Regions from separate parts of the Homo sapiens genome. Here all the other regions are linked to region 1. Evidence: promoter capture Hi-C in human tissues and cell types (Jung and others, 2019). All regions are on one chromosome and are shown on one strand. Each heading gives the region's core, a stretch centred on a gene start or on the middle of the fragment in contact. The rest is flanking DNA. Distances are from core to core; before and after follow the strand shown. Region 1 holds the start of SEZ6 (seizure related 6 homolog). Region 2 overlaps SEZ6 (seizure related 6 homolog). Region 3 has its middle 25 kb from the start of PIPOX.

Region 1 (3,466 bases), core at 334-2,833:
CGGAGGATCCAGCATGGGCAGCCCGGTAGCGGGGTGAGGACACTGGGCTGTGTGCAAGTGGAGCTAGAGGCTCAGAAAAAGGCTTCTGCGTCTCCGGGGCCACAGTTTTTCTTCCTGGATGAAGAAAACTGCCGTCCGGGGGCCCAGCCTGTCCCTGGCCGCGCTGCCTTGACCTCGGCAGCGGCCTGGAAAGATCGAGCAGGGAGGTTAGAAACTCCCACCCTCACACTTCACATCAGGCCCTTCAAACCATATGGCAAGGGATGGCAGGTCTCAACTCCAAGTGCGGTTCTGCCGACCCTACCAGCCTACTGCAGCGGGAGAAGGACGTGGGTGCCAGTAGCTTCCATGAGAGCTTGTTTGAGCCAGGACGGCAGGTCCAGACAAGACTCTTCCCCGAGGCACGGAACCCCTATCCTCTCCCCAACACTCCCTTGCCGCTCACACCATGGCCAAGCTTCCCTCTACCCAAGACCGACGAAGTTGGGGACCAGACTCCTAGAGGGGGCGCGGGGATTCTCAGGGTGTGGGGAACAGGTCCTCCAGAGACAAATCTGCCTTGCAGGTGGGGAGTGGACCAGGGCCGGGCAGGAAGGCAGGCCGGGAGGGAGGCAGAGCTCGGGGCAGTGGTGTGTGTGTGTGTGTGTGTGTGTGTGTGTGTGTGTGTGTACAAGGAAAGGACTTTGGGGAGGACAGAGTCTCTATCCCAGGATCTCCGCTGCTGCAGCCGAGGGCAGAGCCAGGAGCCAGATAGGGGGTCCAGGCCCTTGGAGTTTCTCTCTAGAATTGTGCTCTAGGTCCCGACTCTGGCGTGGCAGCGCCAGGGCATGGGGAGGTGAGCGAGGTCCCAACCCCGGGTCCGGCCGCCATCCGGCCCCGTCTCCCCTCAGTAAGAACACTAGAGGCCCTGGAACCGGCGGCAAAGTCGAGCGAAGTTTGGCGGGCGGCAGGGGAAGCGGGACCACGGGCCGCCAGCTGGACCGTCCCGACTCACTGCCTTGCGCCCCCCGGCACGCGCCCCAGCACCCTGAGATGCCTAGAGTGTGGCGAGGTAGCGCGCGGGTGAGCGCGTGTGTGCGGGGAGTGGGTGGCGTGATGAATTGCATCAGAGAAATCCCATTAGATCTGGGGAGATGATTAAAGACGAGGTCTCGGCCGGGCGCGAATGGCGGGAGCCGCGGCAGCTTCCCGCCCGCGAAGCCCGCGCCCCGCCCGGCTTGGCCGGCGCCGGGGGCAGCGCAGCCGGCGGGGCGCGGTGCTTGGACTGGGCAGCCAGATGCCCGAAGCTGGGCACCGGGTCTCCCTTCCCACCCCTGGGGCCCCGCTCCCGCCCCCGTCCTGCCGCCGGATGCCGGGGTCCCTTACCGTGAGCCAGGAGCGCCAGCAGCGAGGGCAGGAGCAGCAGGGCTACCGGGCGCATGGTGCTGGTTGCGGCCGCGCCCTGGGCTGGGACCGCGGCGGGAGGGCGGGGGGCTTGGTGGGGCTTGGGCGCGGGGGCAGAGCCGGGTCCGGCCGGGTAGAGGGAGCGGGGCCGCAGCCGTCACCGCCGCTGCCGCCGCCAGCGCCTGACAGAATCAGCACCACGGCCAGCGCCTGGCGACGGCGCCGGGGATCGCCGAGCGGGGCTGGGGGCGGGGGCGCGGGAGGAGCGGCTTACCGTAAAGTCTCATGCAAAGGCGCAGAGACCCAGGGGCAGGAGCCCAGGCTCCCGCTCCACCGCGACTGCCCTACTCATGTGGGCACACGGCCCCTGCCCTTCTGCGCTGCCCACCCCCAGCCAAGCATGCCACCCTCTTTCCCGTTAACGGCCTGCTAAGGAACCTCAATTAATAGCTCACTGTAGCCTTCTGATTCTCCATGAGAAAGAGCAACACTTTCCCCACCCCTCTCCACCCAATCCTGGTACCTGAGGGCGTCAAGGGTGACCTGGGAAGACATCCGAGAGTGAGGCAGCTGGTGAGGCCCGCGTGCCCTTGTGGCAGTTCCGTCTTGGGACGATAATGAAGATGGCTTTTGAGCGTACAAAGGATAATAAATTATTACTTTGCGCTCAATAAATGCCAGGGCTCCAGGCAGCTGCATCAGCAGCAAACTGTGCTCACAGAAAAGCTTAATTATCCTGATATTATAGTTAAAAGCCAGTGGCACTCGCATCCTGGGGAGACATTCTTCACTTGGCAGGAGGCAACCTGGGCCAAGCTGTGGGCAGCTGAAGGTAGTATCCTGGGTCCCCACGTAGCCCTGGGTCTCCAGGACTCTGCCTTGGCCCCTCTGCAGGACCAGAGAAGCCACAGTGACAGTCGATACAGACCCTTCATGCCATCTCTGCCCAGGTTTCTGGAATTGGTGGAGAAAATGGCATAGGCATGAGAGAGGGTTTCCTAGAGCTGTTATTTTATTTTATTTTATTATTGTTTTTAGAGACAGGGTCTCTGTTGCTTAGGCTGGAAATGCAGTGGCACAATTATATTAATAGCTCACCCAAACTCCTGGGCTCAAGAGATCCTCCCACTTCAGCCTCTCAAGTAGCTAGAACTACAGGCATGCACCCCCAAGCCTGGCTAATTTTTAAATTTTTTGCAGAGATAAGGTCTCATTATGTTGCCCAAACTGGTCTTGAAATCCTGGCCTCAAGAGATCCTCCCGCCTTGGCCTCCCAAAGTGCTGGGATTACAGGCATGAGCCACTGTGCCCTACGGCTGTTTTAGATAGAGACTTGAAGGAGGCCCAGGGGTGTAGCCTGTACTATTAAAGGCATGGAAAAATAACTTTCCAGGGCCCTGCTTGGGCTGAGGAGCCCCAGTGAGTCACAGGACAGCAAGGGGGCAGTCACAGCTGTGCCATCCTGAGGCTGCTCTTTAAAGGCAGGGGCTCATGGATGGGCTCACTTGAAGAGCTTTAATGGGTACAATGGGACAGGATCCTATGGCTGATGTTATTATTCCCTGTAGAGGAATAGGAGGGCTGAACTCCCTATTGCCCCTGGGAGAAGGGCAGTTTTTTGTTTAGTTTCTTTTTACATGAACTTGGTTGCTCTCCAAAGCTTCCAGACTCCAGTCATTGTCCAGTGTCCTTCCTGACCCTCATCCTGGAAGCAGGTGGTGAAATTTCTGCTCAAGTTCCTTAGAGAGTGTTTTGGTCCTCTTGACCAGAGTCTCCCAACTCTGCTGGTTGGATTCTCTCCAGACCCTCTTCTTGTGGGCTCTGGGGAGCTGTGATGACTGCTGTAAAGAGTCCCAGGCAGCAGGCAGATGGCGTGTGGAATTAGGAAGACGCTGGGATTTCTGGACAGTTGTTTTGAGAAGCTGAGGAAAAAGAGGGCAGCAGCAGAAGGATGGCAGGAAGAAGGAGGAGCTGATGCAAGAATCAGGGGTGAGGAGAGGAAGCCAGGAAAGAAGGTGCAAGAGGGGAGGCAGAAAGAGAGTTGCCAACAGAGGAAGGGAAGAGACACAGAGGTAGAAGGTTG
Region 2 (3,360 bases), core at 31-2,530, 40 kb before region 1:
AGGTTATTTAATCTTTGTGTGTGTGTTTCCTCATTTGTTAAATGAGGTTTAAAATCCTAGCCTACCTACAGGGTTACTGTGAGAAGAAATGATAGAGTATTTTATCTAGCTTGGTATCTCTGGTACCCAGCTGATATTATATCTTCAGGAAATGCTTATTGAATGACTCGTAGACATGAAAGCACTTGAAATAGTGAAAAACCTATACAGATGTAAAGTGTTGATACTGTTTTTCCTTTAGGGAATAAATATGAATTGCAGCAGCAAAGAGTGAAATCAGACAGTAAAGGCTTTCCCAGTATTCACTGAGAAATGCTAAAAAGCTTGATGCCAATGGCCATGGACTTCTTTTAAAACCAGAATGGTGGCCGGGCCGGTGTCTCATGCCTGTAATCCCAGCACTTTGGGAGGCCGAGGTGGGCGGATCACCTGAGGTCGGGAGTTCGAGACAAGCCTGACCAACATGGATAAACCCCGTCTCTACTAAAAATACAAAATTAGCCGGGCATGGTGGCGCATGCCTGTAATCCCAGCTACGGGGGAGGCTGAGGCAGGAGAATCGCTTGAACCCGGGAGGTGGAGGTTGTGGTGAGCTGAGATCACTCCATTGCATTCCTGCTTGGGCAACGAGAGCAAAACTCCATCTCAAAACAAACAAACAGCCGGGAGTGGTGGCTCATGCCTGTAATCCCAGCACTTTGGGAGGCCGAAGTGGGCGGATCACCTGAGGTCAGGAGGTCGAGACCAGCCTGGCCAACATGGAGAAACCCCATCTCTACTAAAAATACAAAAATCAGCCGGACGTGATGGCAGGCGCCTGTAATCCCAGCTACTCGGGAGGCTGAGGCAGGAGAATCGCTTGAACCCGGCAGGTGGAGGTTGCAGTGAGCCGAGATCGTGCCATTGCGCTCCAGCCTAGGGGACGAGAGCGAGACTTCATCTCAAAAAAACAAACTTACAAACAAACAAAATCCAGAATGGTGGTAGGCTGGGGCAAGGTGGGAGGATTGCTTGAGGCCAGGAGTTCAAGAGCAGCCTGGGCAACATAGTGAGGTCCCCATCTCTGTAAAAAATTTTTAAAAAATACCCAGGCATGGTGATGTGTACCTGTAGTCTTAGCTACTCAGGAGGCTGAAGTGGGATCGCTTGAGCCTAGGAGTTTAAGGCTGCAGTGAACTATGATTGCACCACTGCGCTCCAGCCTAGGTGACAGAGTGAGTCCCTGTTTCGAAAAACAACATCAAACAAACAAGAAAAAGATGGGGACGAGGGTAGGGAGGCAGTGCACTGCCTTCATGGAAGTTGGGGAAAGAACAAGTTGCCCTGGGAAAGCTGGTAGCTTTGGAATTGTCATACCAAATTTGACCAAATGGTGGCAGCAAATCCTACAAAACAATCTGGCATATCCCGATCCTGGGGTCAAGCTGGGGTGGTAGCTAAAAGGATCAACCCGGTGCAGTGGCTCACGCCTGTAATCCCAGCACTTTGGGAGGCTGAGGTGGACGGATGGCCTGAGGTCAAGAGTTCAAGACCAGCCTGGCCAACATGGCAAAACCCCATCTCTACTAATAAAATACAAAAATATTAGCTGGGCATGGTGGCAGGCGCCTGTTATCCCAGCTACTCGGGAGGCTGAGGCAGGAGAATCGCTTGGACCGGGGAGATGGAGGTTGCAGTGAGTCGATATCATGCCATTGCACTCCAGCCTGGGCGACAGAGTGAGACTCCATGTTCCAAAAAATAAAATAAATAAATAAAATAAAATAAAATAAAATAAAAGTGAAGATCCAGCTGGGCACGGTGGCTCACACCTGTAATCCCAGCACTTTGGGAGGCCGAGGCAGGTGGATAACAAAATCAGGAGTTCGAGACCAGCTAACATGGTAAAACCCCATCTCTACTAAAAATACAAAAAAAAAAAAAATGATCTGGGCATGGTGGCACGCGCCTGTAGTCCCAGTTACTTGGGAGGCTGAGGCAGGAGAATCGCTTGAACTCGGGAGGCAGAGGTTGCAGTGAGTGGAGATTGCGCTACTGCACTCCAGCCTGGGCGGCAGAGTGAGACTCTTTCTCAAAAAAAAGTGAAGATCCTGGCTTGCGTCTAAGAGGTGAGAGCAAAGGCCTGGAGGGGTCAAGGAGAGGCTGAGAGGCTTGTGCTACAGAGCCTGATAACCCTTGGGGTGGTAGGAAAAGTGAGGACTGTCTAGACTGAAGATCTTGGGTCTTGGGGTAGGGGGCAGCCCCACTGATGGTATCAGGTAAATGGGAGGAGAGGTCCATGCAAGGCCTCTGTTCCTGGGTGCCTTTGTGTGAATAGAAAAATGGGCCCTCTTTCTTCCCCCCCATTAAAAAGAAAAAGAAAAAGAAAAAGAGGCTGTCTCAGGGCAGACCAGGGTCCAGAAATTTGAGTTTTATGACTTTCACCTGTCCTGTTACTATGTCTGTGAAAGTGGGAGGAGAATTCCTCCTCTTCTGTCTCTCATGGGGCTCTGGAGAGAATGGTCGGTAAGTGGCTAGTTGTGCTTGGCAGGCAGTACAGGGCAGTGCTTAGCAGGTGGGCTGTGGGTCAGACTGCCTGGGTTTGAATGCAGGCTTCTTCCCTACGTGCTGTGCCACCGTGGGCAAGTTACCTAAATTCTCTGTGCCTCAGTTGCCTCATTTATCCACCCACTTTCAGTATTACATCCAAGGTTGTGGAGGTTAAGTGAGAAGACATATGTGCAGTTCCTGAACAAATGCCTAAGACATCAGCCTGCTGTTATTGTTTGTAATCTTGATTAATAATAGCACCTCACATCTACATGTACTTTCCAGATTCTAAAATGCCTTCACACTCTTCTTTCTTGATGTCTACAATATGCTTGGGAGAAAGGCAGGCAAGGTAGGGGCTATGAGCCCATTTTCAGATGAGAACAGGTTCAGAGAGACCCTGTGCCCTCATCACACAGCAAGGAAGTACTAGACCAGGAACTTGAAGCTCCTGGGCTCTGAAGCCTTCTTGCTTTCCACCACCACCCCACCTGCTTCCTCATTTGAAGTAGAAACTTGGGTTCAGGGGTCAGAGAAATCTGAGAGTAACAGACAAGCCTGCTCTGGGTGGTTGTCCAGGGCAGCCACTCACAGTGACCTGGGGAGAGGTCCCAGTCCAGGATGGGATGGAGAAAGGGGTGTGGGGCACCACACCCAGAGTGGAGGAGGTTAAGAGGTTAACTGACGCCTAGTGGGGTCTAGACCATGAGCCAGGCTCAGGCCCAGCATTTCCCCTTACATCTTCCCCTTTGAGTTCTTATCACCACTCTAGTAAGGGAGGGCCCTCGTTTCACAGATGAGGAAACTGGGCTGGAATGGGGTGGAACTGGG
Region 3 (3,657 bases), core at 1,132-3,631, 63 kb after region 1:
CACTGAGCCATGTCCCCACCTTGCAGATCTTAAAAAAAAAAAAAAAAAAAAAGTATATCACTATGACACAAATGTCCTAAATGACCTTCTCAACTCTTGGCTCCTCCTCATCCCAACCCCACTGCCAGTCCCTTTAACAAAAACAGCCTCACCTAAACCGATCACCTGCAGGGCTCTCAGCTGCATGGGAGGGCTTGATCTAGATGCTCTTGTCTCATCTGCGCTGCTCGCCTCCCCTAAATACCCTGTTCATGTTCCACCCTCCAATCTGTTCCTCTTCCAGCTTCCCTCTCAGCCATGCCGAGAGAAGCCTGCTGCTTTAAGAATGGCTTTCCCTGAGCAAGGGATCTAAGCAGTTTCTAAGCAGCTTTGCCACACGGTTTACCCCCTCCCGCCCACCCGCCTGCTATGATTTCTGTATATGAAATGTTGGGAAAGAAGTGATTCTTATAATCATGCTAATATGACAATTTGGGGCCTTCTTTGGTGTTGCTACACACATCTGTACTGACTTTTAAAAATTGTATGAAAACTTGGTATTGAAAGCACAGCCACTTCATCTATAACCCCACATCCCCAGGTAAAACTACTTATAGTTTTCAGAGGTCCCTTCTAATATTTATTTATTGATCTGTGTTTTCCCTTCTACTTTTGTCATGTCTATATGTAACCTTAGGAACCCATTAACAGAGCTGTAAGACTGCCTCACTTTCTAGTTGGTTCTCTAGGCTTATTTTGTCGGTTCCTGGGAGCAGAAGCTCCTTTCTACTATTAAAACCTGCCCAGTGGCTGAGTATGTTTCCACCAGAAACAGTAGCTCCCACAGATGTTCTCCGGAACCCACAAAGGCAGGCCATGAGACCTGTGCTTCCAGGGCAGAACCTTCCAGGGAGTGCACTCACTAGGGTCACTCTTCCTTGGACAGTAGTCCCCCAGCAGTCCTCAAGCAAGGGTGCCAACCTGCAGTTGATGCCAGGCCCCAGGGTTAAGATGAGCCATGAGACCTCTTTCATCACATACAATTTTATATTTGCCTGGCTGCCTGTCACTCACCGGTCTTTCAAAGTGCTAATGTTTCCGAAGCTATTGGCTATATCTTCCCCATGCAGAGATTTTTTTAAACTCCTTTTTTTCTTTTTGAGACAGAGTCTCACCCGTCGCCCAGGCTGGAGTGCAATGGCATGATCTCGTCTCACTGCAAACTCCACCTTCAAGGGATTCTCCTGCCTCAGCCTCCCGAGTAGCTGGGATTACATGTTCCCGCCAACACGCCCAGCTAATTTTTTTTTTTTTTTTTGAGACGGAGTCTTGCTCTGTCGCCCAGGCTGGAGTGCAGTGGCTCGGATCTCTGCTCACTGCAAGCTCCGCCTCCTGGGTTCATGCCATTCTCCTGCCTCAGCCTCCCGAGTAGCTGGGACTACAGGCACCCGCCACCATGCCCGGCTAATTTTTTGTATTTTTTTAGTAGAGATGGGGTTTCATCGTGTTAGCCAGGATGGTCTTGATCTCCTGACCTCGTGATCCACCCGCCTCAGCCTCCCAAAGTGCTGGGATTACAGGCGTGAGCCACCGTGCCCGGCCTAATTTTTGTATTTTTAGTAGAGAGGGGGTTTCACCATCTTGGCCAGGCTGGTCTCGAACTCCTGACTCCAGGTGATCCACCCACCTCAGCCTTAACTCCTTTTTTTTTTAAATTTCCATTTTCAAATTCCCTAGTGTCCTCTCTTTCCCAAATCCATTTGCTGCTTTTCCTAATCTAGTCAGATCATAGATGTGGCACAAAACATATAAAAATTTCTTAAAATGTGGAAACTCTTTGACTCTTAAGCCACTTCAAATATAATTTGGCTGGATAGTGTCAAAACGTAATATCCTTTTTGAATTTTCTTTTCTTCTAAAACTGTCATAGCTGACTTTTGATATCTACAGCAAATTCTATCTGCACATATAAGTATTCCACTGGGGGATTTATGTGACTGACTTCAGTCGCAAAGCACACACTCTTTTTGGAATCTCCCTTATGTTTATGACCCATCTCTGGGGCTCACGCTACAGAAGACTCAATTTCTCTGTACAATTCCTTCTAAACACATCCAGTATCCTTGTTAACTCCAAAATGGCTACTGCTCTGGAAATCTTTCCTCCCAGATCAAATAGCAGGGAATGGTCTGGATTGTTGTTGTACTGTAATGAAATTAGACTGAAGTGAATATAGCTTAAAATATGCATTCTGAGCGATGTGGAACTGTTATTCATATTGCTGGCACAGTGGGAGTGAAGTGAAAATGTGATAATATATGGGGGATGCTCTGAAAATTGTGAAGCGCGACGCAAATGTGAAGTAGATATTTTCCCCCCAAATTGCCAAGAAGCGTTTCCTTTCTGAGGCCAGGACTTGGCGAATGCCAGGCACACGCGATTTGAGATGAGGACCATGGTAGTGATTCTTTGCTTTCTTGCCTCTCACTGCATCCTCTGCCAAGGCCAGAATAGTTAGGAGACGCCTGGCCAGCTGCTGGAAGCAAGTTGAGGACTCTGCTTAGAAAGATGACATCACCCCTCAGCCTCAGTTTTCTTTCCAGGATGACGTCTTCACAGAGTTGTGATGGAGGTGAAATGAGATTTTGTAGGGCAAAGTGCTTAAGCGCTGGGGTCATCATAGTAAGTGCTCAACAAATGGGAACTGTTGTTGGTCCTTTTTTTTTTTTTTTGAGATGAAGTCTCTCTCTTGTCCCCTAGGCCAGAGTGCAATGACACGATCTTGGCTCACTGCAACCTCTGCCTCCCGGGTTCAAGCGATTCTCCTGCCTCAGCCCCCCAAGTAGCTGGGATTACAGGTGCCTGCCACCACGCACGGCTAATTTTTGTATTGTTTTTAGTTGAGATGGGGTTTCACCATGTTGGCCAGGCTGGTCTTGAACTCCTGACCTCAGGTGATCCACCCTCCTCGGCCTCCCAAAAGTACTGGGATTACAGGCGTAAGCCACCGCACCCGGCCAATTATTGCTCTTATTACCCTCCTCTCACTACTGACAGGGTAGGAAGGGGCCTGTCAGTCCCAGTCACTGACTCTGGGCCTCAGCTCAGGCCAGAGTTCCAAGGGCCCTTAAAAGGGCGGGAAACATTATTTCCGGGTTGCTCGGAGAGTAGACCTGTCCTAATGCCGCTGTAATCATTAAAAGGGCAACACAGATGGGCTGCCCATCGGCGGCTTGAAAACCCATTTCTTTTAAGGGGAGTGGCTTCTGGGAAGTGCGTAAAGAACCTCCAGGCAGGGGCGGGACCAGAGGGCCACGTGCGCCAATGAAAAGTGGATATGCAAATATATATATGAATATGCTAACGAGCTCTCGGTTTCCCAGTGAATGGTAGGGCACAAGCCTGGACTGGCAGAGCGGGCTAGGGAAGAAGAGGAAATGAGAGGACCTCGAGGTTCAACCGAGTGTCTGAATGGAAACTAACTCCCGACAGACCATGCACAACGTTTCTTCCACAGCACCCGGATCTCGAAGCCCCACTGGGCATCAACTGTCAGTCCCTCACTAGGGGGGATGAAGGGGGAGGGCGTGGGAGATTCTTTTGGCTGTGGTAAGGAGCTCTGAATTTAGAAGCCAGAAGGTTCTTGCCAGCAATACTACCTTGTTTCACAGATGGGGA

What was found. Contacts are between HindIII fragments. The study calls those that stand out against the background at their distance.
Region 2: a contact is called between a fragment that was not itself captured here and the fragment with the promoter of SEZ6 in region 1, in 4 of the 25 tissues and cell types used here (H1 embryonic stem cells, liver, mesendoderm cells and 1 more).
Region 3: a contact is called between a fragment that was not itself captured here and the fragment with the promoter of SEZ6 in region 1, in 3 of the 25 tissues and cell types used here (hippocampus, mesendoderm cells and thymus).

Annotation. Positions count from the first base shown.
Region 1 is chr17:29,004,450-29,007,915 of GRCh38, forward strand. It overlaps SEZ6 (seizure related 6 homolog), which reads right to left and starts at 1,584. Exons shown (of 17, transcript NM_178860.5): 1 at 1,366-1,584. The coding sequence starts at 1,420. The region is part of intron 2 of LOC105371716 (a long non-coding RNA gene); the gene reads left to right. RefSeq lists a silencer at 1,347-1,530. The HindIII fragment of the contact is 3,335 bases long and covers 1-2,576 here.
Region 2 is chr17:28,964,410-28,967,769 of GRCh38, forward strand. The region is part of intron 4 of SEZ6 (seizure related 6 homolog); the gene reads right to left. All of the region lies in intron 1 of LOC105371716 (a long non-coding RNA gene), which reads left to right. Among named protein-coding and RNA genes, the nearest start is that of PHF12, 15 kb to the left of the region's middle. RefSeq lists an enhancer at 3,218-3,307. The HindIII fragment of the contact is 3,586 bases long and covers 1-3,073 here.
Region 3 is chr17:29,066,548-29,070,204 of GRCh38, forward strand. No RefSeq gene overlaps it. Among named protein-coding and RNA genes, the nearest start is that of PIPOX, 25 kb to the left of the region's middle. The HindIII fragment of the contact is 5,950 bases long and covers 1-3,657 here.